3 separate regions of the Homo sapiens genome follow, and all the other regions are linked to region 3. The links are contacts of gene promoters, found by promoter capture Hi-C in blood cells and fetal thymus (Javierre and others, 2016). All regions are on one chromosome and are shown on one strand. The core of a region is centred on a gene start or on the middle of the fragment in contact, and the rest is flanking DNA. Distances in the headings are between cores, read along the strand shown. Region 1 holds the start of GK (glycerol kinase). Region 2 holds the start of FAM199X (family with sequence similarity 199, X-linked). Region 3 holds the start of RLIM (ring finger protein, LIM domain interacting).

What was found. Contacts are between HindIII fragments. The CHiCAGO score rates a contact against its expected background, and 5 or more counts as called.
Region 1: the fragment with the promoter of GK here is called in contact with the fragment with the promoter of RLIM in region 3 in 2 of 17 cell types (naive B cells and naive CD4 T cells); the score reaches 7.9 in naive B cells.
Region 2: a fragment that was not itself captured here is called in contact with the fragment with the promoter of RLIM in region 3 in 1 of 17 cell types (total CD4 T cells); the score reaches 5.6 in total CD4 T cells.

What each region holds. Positions count from the first base shown.
Region 1 is chrX:30,651,948-30,655,639 of GRCh38, forward strand. GK (glycerol kinase) reads left to right here and starts at 1,476. Exons shown (of 21, transcript NM_001205019.2): 1 at 1,476-1,668. The coding sequence starts at 1,591. RefSeq lists a silencer at 1,146-1,565. The HindIII fragment of the contact is 2,269 bases long and covers 852-3,120 here.
Region 2 is chrX:104,165,421-104,168,800 of GRCh38, forward strand. FAM199X (family with sequence similarity 199, X-linked) reads left to right here and starts at 1,033. Exons shown (of 6, transcript NM_207318.4): 1 at 1,033-1,562. The coding sequence starts at 1,366. RefSeq lists a silencer at 821-1,310 and an enhancer at 875-1,375. The HindIII fragment of the contact is 174 bases long and covers 2,027-2,200 here.
Region 3 is chrX:74,612,256-74,615,981 of GRCh38, forward strand. RLIM (ring finger protein, LIM domain interacting) reads right to left here and starts at 2,369. Exons shown (of 4, transcript NM_016120.4): 1 at 2,167-2,369. RefSeq lists an enhancer at 1,974-2,293. The HindIII fragment of the contact is 9,843 bases long and covers 606-3,726 here.

The sequences.
Region 1 (3,692 bases), core at 226-2,725, about 44 Mb before region 3:
AGCAAGCCAGTTTATCGATAGTTATTAAATCTAGTATGTCCATAAGCAGGCTTCATCTGGAACATTAGAATGTGAGGTCTAGACGGTGTTTAGGAAAATTTGCTTTCAGATCATGTGTGGTAAAACTATACAAACAGAGATGGACAAGTGACGTGGTGTAGAGCAAGGTAAGAAAGGAAAAAAAAAAAAAAGGAAAAGAAATGATGTTCCAGAACACAGAGATTTGGGAAAGGGATGGAAAGAAATGACAGTGGGTATAGCGGAGTGCTTTTAAAATTGATAGAGAGCATGGTGGGTTACAAAAGCAATTTAGTGATTTTCAATCAGCATTAAAAAAAAATGATATGCCATAGAATAAAAATACAGAATGCATACTGTGGAAGGACAAATATTGTTTTGGAAAGTTTTTCTATACATACATAAATGTATATTAGATGTATATAACATGTATTTACATGTGTAACAATTGTAACTACAAATGTGCTCCCCGCCCACACACACTGGAGCCTGGGTTTGTTTTGTAAACTGTTTCACAGTGTGGGTCTTGGTTCCAAGTTTGAAAGCCCTTAGAACACAGGATCCAGAAGGATCCGGGCAAGGTAAATTCAAGGTCAAGGGAGAGTCCCTTTTCTGTCCCCTGCCATCCAAAGCAGTTAATGGAGGGAGAGGAAATGGCGTGTGGGGGAGGGGACCGCAGAGTGAGGCCAAACGAGGAGCAAGGGCGCGTCAGGACGGAGTGGTGCCGGGCGCCTTCTGCCTGAATGGTCGATAGAGGAACTTGGGGAGGTTGATTTTGGGTGCTTTCCTTAAATGCTAAACCGAAAGAACTTCCGCGTTTCTTGTCCCTGAAAAGCTTGCAACGGTGAAGGATTCGCGTTGCTCCTTGAGGTGACCCTATATGGGGTCAATCCCAGCCAAAGGAATGATTACGATTACCAGGGGCCAGATGCAGGGAGGTGGGCGGGGCGTGGGAAACGCGGGAAGGCCGGGCCGGGTAGGTCCACACAGCGACTCACGTCGCTGCACGACTCTGCACAGCCCACTGGAGGGAACAAGCAGTTCTACACACTTTGAGACCCCTATGGAGGCGAGCCCCAGGACACTAGTGGAAGTGCGCTCTTTTCGCCGGCCAGGAGCGCTGCCTGCCAAAGGGCAGTACTCGTCTCCGCCCCATGCCATGCAGCTGGATGGCTCTGCTGTCCGCTCGCCGGGCCCCCACGTGACCTACTGCGCGGGCCGCCGCCTCCACCGCGCCCAGGCCCCGCCCCCGTGACGTCTCATCGCCCTCTGCCTGTCCGAGCGTTCGGCTCTTTTGCGTTTGCTGATTGGCCAGCCCAGGTGACAGCGCCCACCCCCACCCCCCCTGACACGCCCCTGGAGCCTTGGGGGTACGCGGTGGGGGGCGGGGCCTGGGCCGGAGGGGCGGGGTGAGAAGGCTGCGCGCGGGTAAAGGGGCCGCCTCGAGCGCGGTCCGAGCGTTCAGCGGACGCGCGCGGCCTCGATCTCTGGACTCGTCACCTGCCCCTCCCCCTCCCGCCGCCGTCACCCAGGAAACCGGCCGCAATCGCCGGCCGACCTGAAGCTGGTTTCATGGCAGCCTCAAAGAAGGCAGTTTTGGGGCCATTGGTGGGGGCGGTGGACCAGGGCACCAGTTCGACGCGCTTTTTGGTGAGCCCGGGGTGACATGTGAAGAGGCGCTGAGCCGGGGCGGGAGTCGGGGGACGGAGGGGGTGGCTGTTGTGTCCCCATCCCGCATCTCTCCGGCCCGGTGCCCCGGCCGCTGGGCAAGGAGGGAGGCCGGAACGGGACCTGCCACACTGGGGATGCCCCAGCCAGGCCTGGGGGACCTCGGCCTCTCATGACCCCCATGGCCGAGTTGAACAGTCGCAGTTTTGGTGGCGGAGCTGGGTCACCTACTAATGGGGTGACTCTTCCCCCAAAGGGAGCAGGGACTCTCCGAGCATCCGCGCAGAGCGGCCCGCTTGCAGTAGGGGACAGGTGGCCACATTGACGGCTACCGCGGTCTTCCCCAGGAACATTTGGCCTGCGAGACACAGGACGTCCTTGGATGGGGGGAAAGCTGTGTCACGGCTGTGGTAGCTAACACAGCGTCCTTTCCAGCAGTAGAACGAATAAAGTATTGGAGTGATGATGCGTTGTCATCCTCTCCCATAAAAATTGCAGAGGGTTGAATACTGGGGAGGGTGGCAGAACAAATTAGGAAACAGTCACACTACACTGGTTTTGCCATAATCTTTATTTAATTCCGAAGACTCGCAAATTTCAGTTCTGAGACTTTGCCCATTACAAACAAATGATTGTCCTTACTGTGCTTCACAGCATAATGCGACACGGAAATTCTGTTTCTCTTTTTATTTACCATGTGTGACAGCACAGTTTTACCACAAAAGATTGCTATTTAAGTGACTGCTGATTAATTTTTGTGCAATTAGTAAACTTGCTCTTAAAGTGACCTAGCACAGAGTTCAGTAAGATAATTTAAAAGTAATTGAGGCCGGGCGCGGTGGCTTACACGTGTAATCCCAACAGTTTGGGAGGCTGAGGCGGGTGGATTACCTAAGGTCAGGAGTTCGAGACCAGCCTGGCCAACCTGGCATAACAAAAATTAGCTGGGCGTGGTGGCGGGCGCCTGTAATCCTACTTACCCGGGAGGCTGAGGCAGGAGAATCACTTGGACCCGGGAGGCGGAGGTTGCAGTGAGCAGAGATCACACCACTGCACTCCAGCCTGGGCAATCCAGCCTAGCCAACAGAGCGAGACTCTGTCTCAAAAAAATAAAAATAAATAAAAAATAAATAAAAGTAATTGAAATGAATGCCTGCTGATAAAAGCCCATGCTTTCAATGGATATTTGACTAACTTGGCAAGTTGATGTAAATATTTAATGATTATTTAGCTCTTCACTTTACCGCAAATCATGTTTTCCTGTGTTATTTAGTATGTATATATCTGTACATATATACACATATGTGTATATTTATACATAGGCATTATACATACAATGTATATATTTTTTCAAAGTTCTGTCAGAGCTGGCACTTGACTAAAAACTGCATTTGTGCTTTGATCCTGACATATCTTTTTTTGTCTAAAGTGAGAAGCTTTCAGTCTAATTTTGGTTTGAATCTTATTTAATGACTTACCCTGGTTTGAGCTGCCAAGCATAGTTCCACTGTCTCTTGCACTGTTTATCTTTTGATCACCCAGGGCAGGTTTCACTTTGTCTTATATTCATAGAAATGTTTATAGAGTAATCCTGAATCATAAGAAAGTTTGCTTAACTGGATTTGATTAATACATAATATACACGATCATCATCTTCCCAACTTAAGAAAGACCATTAAGACATGTGCCAACTAACTGTGGGTTGATGTTTAAAGCCATATTCAAGAATTGCCCACACAAATGCCTGCAGGGACCAGGCAGGTAGAAGGGGGAAGGCAGACTAGAGAGATATCCAGGTCAAGGGGACAGCTAGTAGCTGCCAAGCAGGAACACAAGCCCAGTGCTGCCAGATCGTCAGATTAAAAGCAGGTAGTCTAGAGTTTTCAATGAAATCTTTCAATTCTTAAATGTTGGCAATTAGTTTATAAAGCACTGTGGGGGCCAAACCAAGCATGGCAGATGTTCTCAAGTTTATACAGCCTTTGCTCAATATGAAAATGGGTAAA
Region 2 (3,380 bases), core at 864-3,363, about 30 Mb after region 3:
TTCATTTTTCCCCTCCTTTCCGCCTATTTAAGTTCTATGCTTTCCTGAAGGATCAATGTAGTTTCTTCATAAATATAGTTAATGCAAAGAATTGCTTTTATTGAAGAATTATGCTCTTATATGAAAATGTGCTTCCTTTTATAAAATAATATTAGGTAGTTTTAAAAATTGTCTTCTTTGGGCAAAGTAAGAAATTAGTAATCTTGGGGTTTCCTCTATTTTTTTTTAATCTTACGCATCCAAGAACAGGAATCACTTGCCCAGAATATAGAGAAGAGAGATGAGATAAACAGCAAAGTACACTATATAACACCTAACAAGTTGATTCAAGTTGAACAAGTTAAGCTCCATAATATATTTTCTACGGGAGGGAGGGGGCAAATTAGCAGGTGTGCCTTAGTCTCCTTTGGGAGTCAGGGAAGGCTTCACTGAGGAGATAACGTTTGAGCTGGAGTTTGAAGGATTAGCAGGGGAGAAATGGCAGGGCATTCCAAGCAGGGTGCCTATGAGCAAAAGGCGCAAAGCACAAAAGAGTACGACGTGTCCAGCAGCTCTGAGTAGGCGAGTGGCTGCAGCGTAGGGTTCTTGGAGTTAGGTGATCAAGGGTGAGGAAGGGACTATTTTCCCTGCTTGGACGATTTCTCCTACACCTCATTGCACGGTGCTGGGCACACACTGCAGGAGCTCAATAAATACTTGTTGAATTGGGACAGAATGAAAGAGTGCGCTGGGAACCAGGGCATCTGGATGTTTTCTCACGCACCCGCAGTGTGACCTTGGCCAAGTCCCTTTTCTGGGACTGCGGTTCCTGCTTAGTAGTCGAGTACGAGTGAGAAAGCGGAGGAGGAGGTTGGCCAGAGGCGCCTAGCCTTTCTAGCGGCCTGAATCCCTGATTCGATGCGTAGAGGGCGGGGCGGGCCGCTTGGGGCCGCGGCGGGCGGAGGTTCAGTTCCTCCTCCGGTCCAGCAGGGGGCACGGGGAGTGGCTTCCCGCCGCCCTTCCCCTCCTTGCGGGCGCCGGGCAGACTGCTGCAGTCGCAAGCGGCGAGCGCAGTGGGCGGGGCGGGCCTGGCCGGGCCGGGCGGCGGCGCTGCGCTGACGGGCTGAGTCTGGCGGCGGCGGAAGCTGCAGAGGCCACCGGGGCGCTAACTGGGTGGCCGGTGGGCCGCTGTGGCCTCGAGCAGCCTCTTCGCGCGGCCCCGCACCCCGGCAAGCAGCAGCGGGCCGCGACGCCCAGCCTGCCAGTGAGCTGCGACGGGCACACCCCGGAGCGTCGGCGACTGCGGACAGGTTAGAGTGGGGGCAGGGGCGGGCGCGGGAGCAGCCCAGGGCCAGAGAGGGAGCCCGAGCCAGGCCATCTCCAACCATGTCCGACGAGGCCTCGGCCATCACTTCCTACGAGAAGTTTCTAACCCCCGAGGAGCCCTTCCCACTCCTGGGACCTCCTCGCGGGGTGGGCACCTGCCCGAGCGAGGAGCCGGGCTGCCTGGACATCAGCGACTTCGGCTGCCAGCTGTCCTCCTGCCATCGCACCGACCCGCTCCACCGCTTCCACACCAACAGGTACGAACTGCACCTGAGGGCAGGGGTGGATTTTCCACTTCTGGTCGCCCCCCGCTCCTGATCCTTCGTCCCGGGCTGCGCTTCCAGTCGCCCCCTCCCCCACCTGCTTTCGACCAGCGCTCATTCCCGGCCTCCTTCCCTGCCCCCCCTCCCTATTTTCACCCCTGCCCTCCTATTTTCCTTTCGACCGGCGTTTTACTCTCTTTTCCTCATTCATATTCTGGCTATAGCGACTCCTCCCTTCCCTACCTTCTCCCTCCCTTGCTTCCCTTCCCTCCCCCCATCTGTACCCTACGAATCCCAAACCCCCACCCTTGATTTTTAGATACGCCCCTGTTTGCATCCATCTGCAAAAGTTTAACCCCTTCCATTTCCGGTACGCTGTAGAGGAATTTGGATGGCTCAAGATCAATCCATAGATCTTTTGAAAAGTGGCGTTGAAAGGTGGAACATTTAAAGCTAGAAGCTTCATTTTCCCTATTTTTAATCTGTCTCACAGTCCTGTTCCCCCCGCCGCCACCACCCCTACCCCATTTTTTTTTTTAGTTGAGCGCTAGGAAACTAGTCGATTCTCTCTTTTTTTCCTCCTCCTTTATTAACTGTTTGCCTTAGCGCTTTAGGCTCTGCCAAAATTGGTAAGCTTAAATCTGGAGGATTCCTTCATATGACATATCCCTTGGTTTCCTTCCCCTTTGAAGAGACAGAGTAAGGCTTAGGATGGACTGACTTACACAAATTTATTCAGAGGGTGTATCTCCTCCTAACTGATTTCAGTAGAAGGTAGTGTTCTGGAGACTTCTCTCATGCAAGCATTTACGTGTTAGATCAAATCTTGGGGGGTGGGTTGAAGACGTTCTAGATACAGCCTCAAGTTTTAACATAGGTGGATATTTGAGATACATATACAAAGGGCTGGGGGGGTGTGTGGTTAAGGCTCTAGGAGAGGGGTTCAGCTATGGAAAATACTGGAGATAAATTAAGAAATCTAGTTCTGACTTCTGATCCAAGTTTATGATGTGAGTTTGATCAAATTCTTCCATATTTTAATGTCTTTAGCATATTTCTCCCCTCCCTTCCCTTAAATCAGTCTGTAGATTGAATGAGCTTCTACCAGATACAAGGAATGTGTAAAAGATGTTTCTTACATAAATGAAAGTTATAGTCTATGGAAACAAGGTGTTATAGTTAAATAATCAGAATATCAGTATAACACATCTCAAAAGGAAGTGGCAGTAAATTTATTATGACTACTCTAAATCGTCATTGCAAAAAATGAAGAAACAGGCCCAGAAAGAAAAGATTGAGTTCAAGGTCATAAAACCTAGTCAAGCAAATCCAAGACTATTCCTTTGAAGCCAATGATTAAACTTGGAGCAGAACTAATTGATCCAGTGTTACAAATAGAACTTATGGTTTCCTAGACCAACTCACAGAAGCCTATTTAACCCCTGATGTCACTGTAATGTGAATGTAACATATTCATGAAATCAAGTGTGCTTAGGGTTATTTATGTTGAAAAATAATGTAAAAGAATACCTTTGTACATATTTGGCATTTAAGTTTTGCAGCCTTGGAGCAAGTCACATACCCAGGAAAGTTAAATAATTTCAGAATGATCCTGCTGTGATGATGAGGGCAAGGGAGTGAGGGCAGAGGCTGTGGGTAAGTACTGCCAAAACTGGGTAGAGGTGATGGGGAGTGAAGTTATGAGAATAATATGTTTCTTACAACTTGTTCTGTTCCTTCCTCCTCCCCGTTTTTTCCTGTGTTTTCTTTCCCTTAAAGACTGTGGTGAGGTCAGGACTGTTTTTCAATGGG
Region 3 (3,726 bases), core at 1,119-3,618:
TACTTATACTCATGCCATTCCAACAATGATATAAGACAACAAATTTTTTGTTGTTGTTGTTCTATACAGGTATTGGTAAACTTCAGACATTATTTTAAAGAGTCAAATTCACAGATAAAGCACTGGTGAGTTCCAGGTATCCAGAAACATTACCCTTTTAATTCCCAGTGAAAAGTACCCATTCTTATCATGAAGAATACCCAACACCATCTAACATCTATCAATGAGCCCATCCAATTACAGGGCCTGCAAAATAGAACAATAAATATTTGTAAACATGCATTCTACACATAAATCATCAGGAGACGCAACAAAAAATAAATTACCTGACTGTTATGACATAGTATTGAAATACAATAAACTGGATTTTAGTTTTCTTCACTCTGCTCTAGAAAAAAAAAGAATCCATTATTCTTCCTCTTTAAAAAGATACACATTTTCTTTGAATTAGACACAACCTAAAAAAAAAAATACAGACACACCATAACCCAACCTAATTCAATATTAGTATTAGGGCATTTGGGGAGAGCAAGAAGGTCAGAGGGGACCAGGAGTTAGATAAAAGATGTCTTCTAAGACTGAGAGACAATTTACGTTTTATTATAAGCTTGCTTAAAATAAGCCTTTCCTTATCAGACCAGTAATTATTTTCAGATTCTGATAGTCACTTTCAAGGACTTATCTGGCACATTACACTAGCCTAAGGTAGGAACTAAAGTATTAAAATTCATCAGAACATCATGGACTAAAAAAATCTTTGTAACATTTTTCAGTAAGTGGAGTGTGTCCTAAAATCAAGTTTTAAAAAGTGGATTGGTCTTTCTAGCTACCTAAGCTATATTTCTACAGTTTAGAAAAGTCATGGGGGGGGAGGGGTTATAATTGTGCCAGTCCTCCAGGGAAGATACAATGTACTTAATGGGGTGATAAGTAGTTACTCTGTCTATAATCACGAAGAATGAAAGAAATGATTAGTAGCAGTAGGTTTATTATTTCTTCCCCCTTTCAATCAGTCCAAAACACTGCGGTTAATTCTGATTCAGGAAATGCGGGCTCCTTACTTCTGGCAAAAAATCATTGTGGGGTCTTGCAAATGGAAGATGACAATCTGATACAACTGCTTCCTCTTGCCCCAAAATGAAAAAAAAAATGACCTCAATAACAAGACTGCTAGGCCTCAGATTCCCAGACTAACCTGTGGAATAAGTATGGTGAAACTGTCTAGGGAAGGAACGTGGCTGTCTCCTCCATCTTGAAATTAATCAGCATAAGGGAAAAAGGGACCGAGTATTCAGGAAGCAGAAGCCCAACCGGTTAATACTAGTTACTAAGCTATGGCATGCGTGGCAGGTACCGTCTGCAGAAGCAGAGACCCCCCTAGGCTTTTTTTTTTTTTTTTAATGGGGGAGGGATTGAGTTGTTGGTGGATTAAACACAAATTAACTTGAAAATTTGGCCCAATTCCATCCCTTATCCAGGAGAACACAACAAACACCTAACGGCTTTTCCCTCTCTTTTGCGGGGGGATCCTTCCAGTGATACCTGGCAAAGGATATGCCAGGGTTATTCGAGCAAGGGAGTAAACCACATTTGCCTCAGATCCTCAGGGAAGATGTCATCGCGGCCCCAGGGGGCGCCTAATTGGTAATACCCTGCAGAAGGGCTCAAAATGAGGTTTTGGAAATCTAAAGGCCCAAGAGTTGCCAGCATCTCACTTGGGGCAGCCTGATTTTTTACTTCCCTTTTCCCAAACCCAAGCCCGCCATGGAAAACGCGGGGAGGTCAGGGAAGCCTCCAGAGAACAGAGAAGAAAAAGCCTGAGACGTTCTAAGATTCTGACGCCTGAGGCCAAAACTCAAAAACTGCCTCCCCCGATTTCCTAAGGCTCCGGAGGGCCTGGGCTGCAGCTCGCGCGGCCACCGAGAGGAAGTACTACCCACCTCCTTCCCCTTCAAAGAGCCTGTCGACTATACCACTCAACTAAAATGGCAGCGGCGACTACGCCACGGAGCCCCCCGCAGCAACGGGCCTGGGGTCCGGAGGCGGCGCTGAGCCTCTGCCACGACGCGTCACTCGGGCCATTTTGAGAGAACGCGGCAGCCGCGGCTCCGCTGTCTTCCTCTCGCTCTACATCATTTCTCACAGGATTCCCAAGTCTTCACTTACTAGGTTTTAGGGTCAGGATCCGACTCGGTTGGTTCGGCCGCCGCCGCCGAGGCTGCTCCGCACCTCCCTGGCCGCCGCTCTCAAGCCCGCCTCCAATGAGTAGCTGGTTGAGACCCGCCTCTAGCCCAGCGCCTGCTCGGAGACGTTGCTCAGGCAGCCATTATCTTCCCCATTGTTACCAAGCAGCGACAGGAAACGACTGCCCACAACAGGAAGTGATGATGCCGCGTCCCGGCACCGCAGCCCCACTCCCAGCCTATTAGCCAATCCCAGTCGATTCCTCGAAAAGGCTCCGCGGGAGGAGGAGGGGGACGGCAGACGACGCGGCAAGGCGGGCGGCGGTTTGGAAAAGGAAAGCTGTTATGACGCCCACCATGTGACAGGCCCCACCCTCCTCCGCCATTTTGAATTGTGGCGAGAAATTTGCGTTCTGAGAATTGTGGGAACCTTCGCTTTCCCATTTTGAAAACTGAAGGACGTCACGGTCTGACTGCTTGAAGACATTTTCAGAGAGAGAGAAATGTGATATTAGTCTACCCTGACATCACATCAGTTCACACAATCCGTGCAGACCAGTTCAAAAAGTAGCCTGCGTTTTATTCAACATGTATTTACACAGTGCCAACTGCATGTCAAGCACCATTGTAGCTGCTTAGGAAATTAAAATAGACCAAAATTAAGAAAGAAAACAGGCCACGTTCGGTGGCTCACGCCTGTAATCCCAGCACTTTGGGAAGCCGAAGCGGGCGGATCACCTGAGGTCAGGAGTTCGAGACCAGCCTGGCCAACATGGTGAAACCCAGTCTCTACTAAAAATACGAAAATTAGCCGGGCGTGGTGGCGGGCGCCTGTAATCTCTGCTAATCGGGAGGCTGAGGCAGGAGAATAGCTGAACCCAGGAGGCGAAGATTGCAGTGAGCCGGGATCTCGCCACTGCACTCTAGCCTGGGTGACAGAGCAAGGCTGTGTCTCAAAAAAAAAAAAAAAAAAAAAAAGAAAACAGATCAAAATCCCAGTTCTCTTGAGTCTTTATAGGGGCCAGGGACAATAATTTAGAAAAAATCAAACATAAATACATATCATGTTAGTGATAAATGCCAAGGAGAAAAATCAAGGAAGGGGGACAGAAGAGTTCCTTGTAGGGACAAACGGATTCGTGATGTTTAAAAGACTGATAACTTTGAGGCATTAACTCTAAAGTATTCGAAAAAGGGCGGTGATTGTAAAAGGGTGGGAAAATCTGATAACGTTGGGATTTGTAAAAGGGCAGTTAAAGAAGGCCTTTCTTAGGTAGTAATGCCTGAAAGAATTGAGGGAACTCGCCACACAGCATGCCACTCCCATTGTCACAGTTAAAGGAAAACCTTACCCAAGTTTTTAGATTCTTTTCCTTTTCCCAATTTTTCTGTTTTCCAATAGCATGCCAGCTATGCTGGCTTTGTTACGGTTTTTCCAACAAAGCTAACTTCTTCCTACTTCAACTACTTTACCTTTGCTGGAATATTTTACTTTCATATCTTTGCTTTCATCATCCAAGCCTCGCAATTATTAACTTCCTAG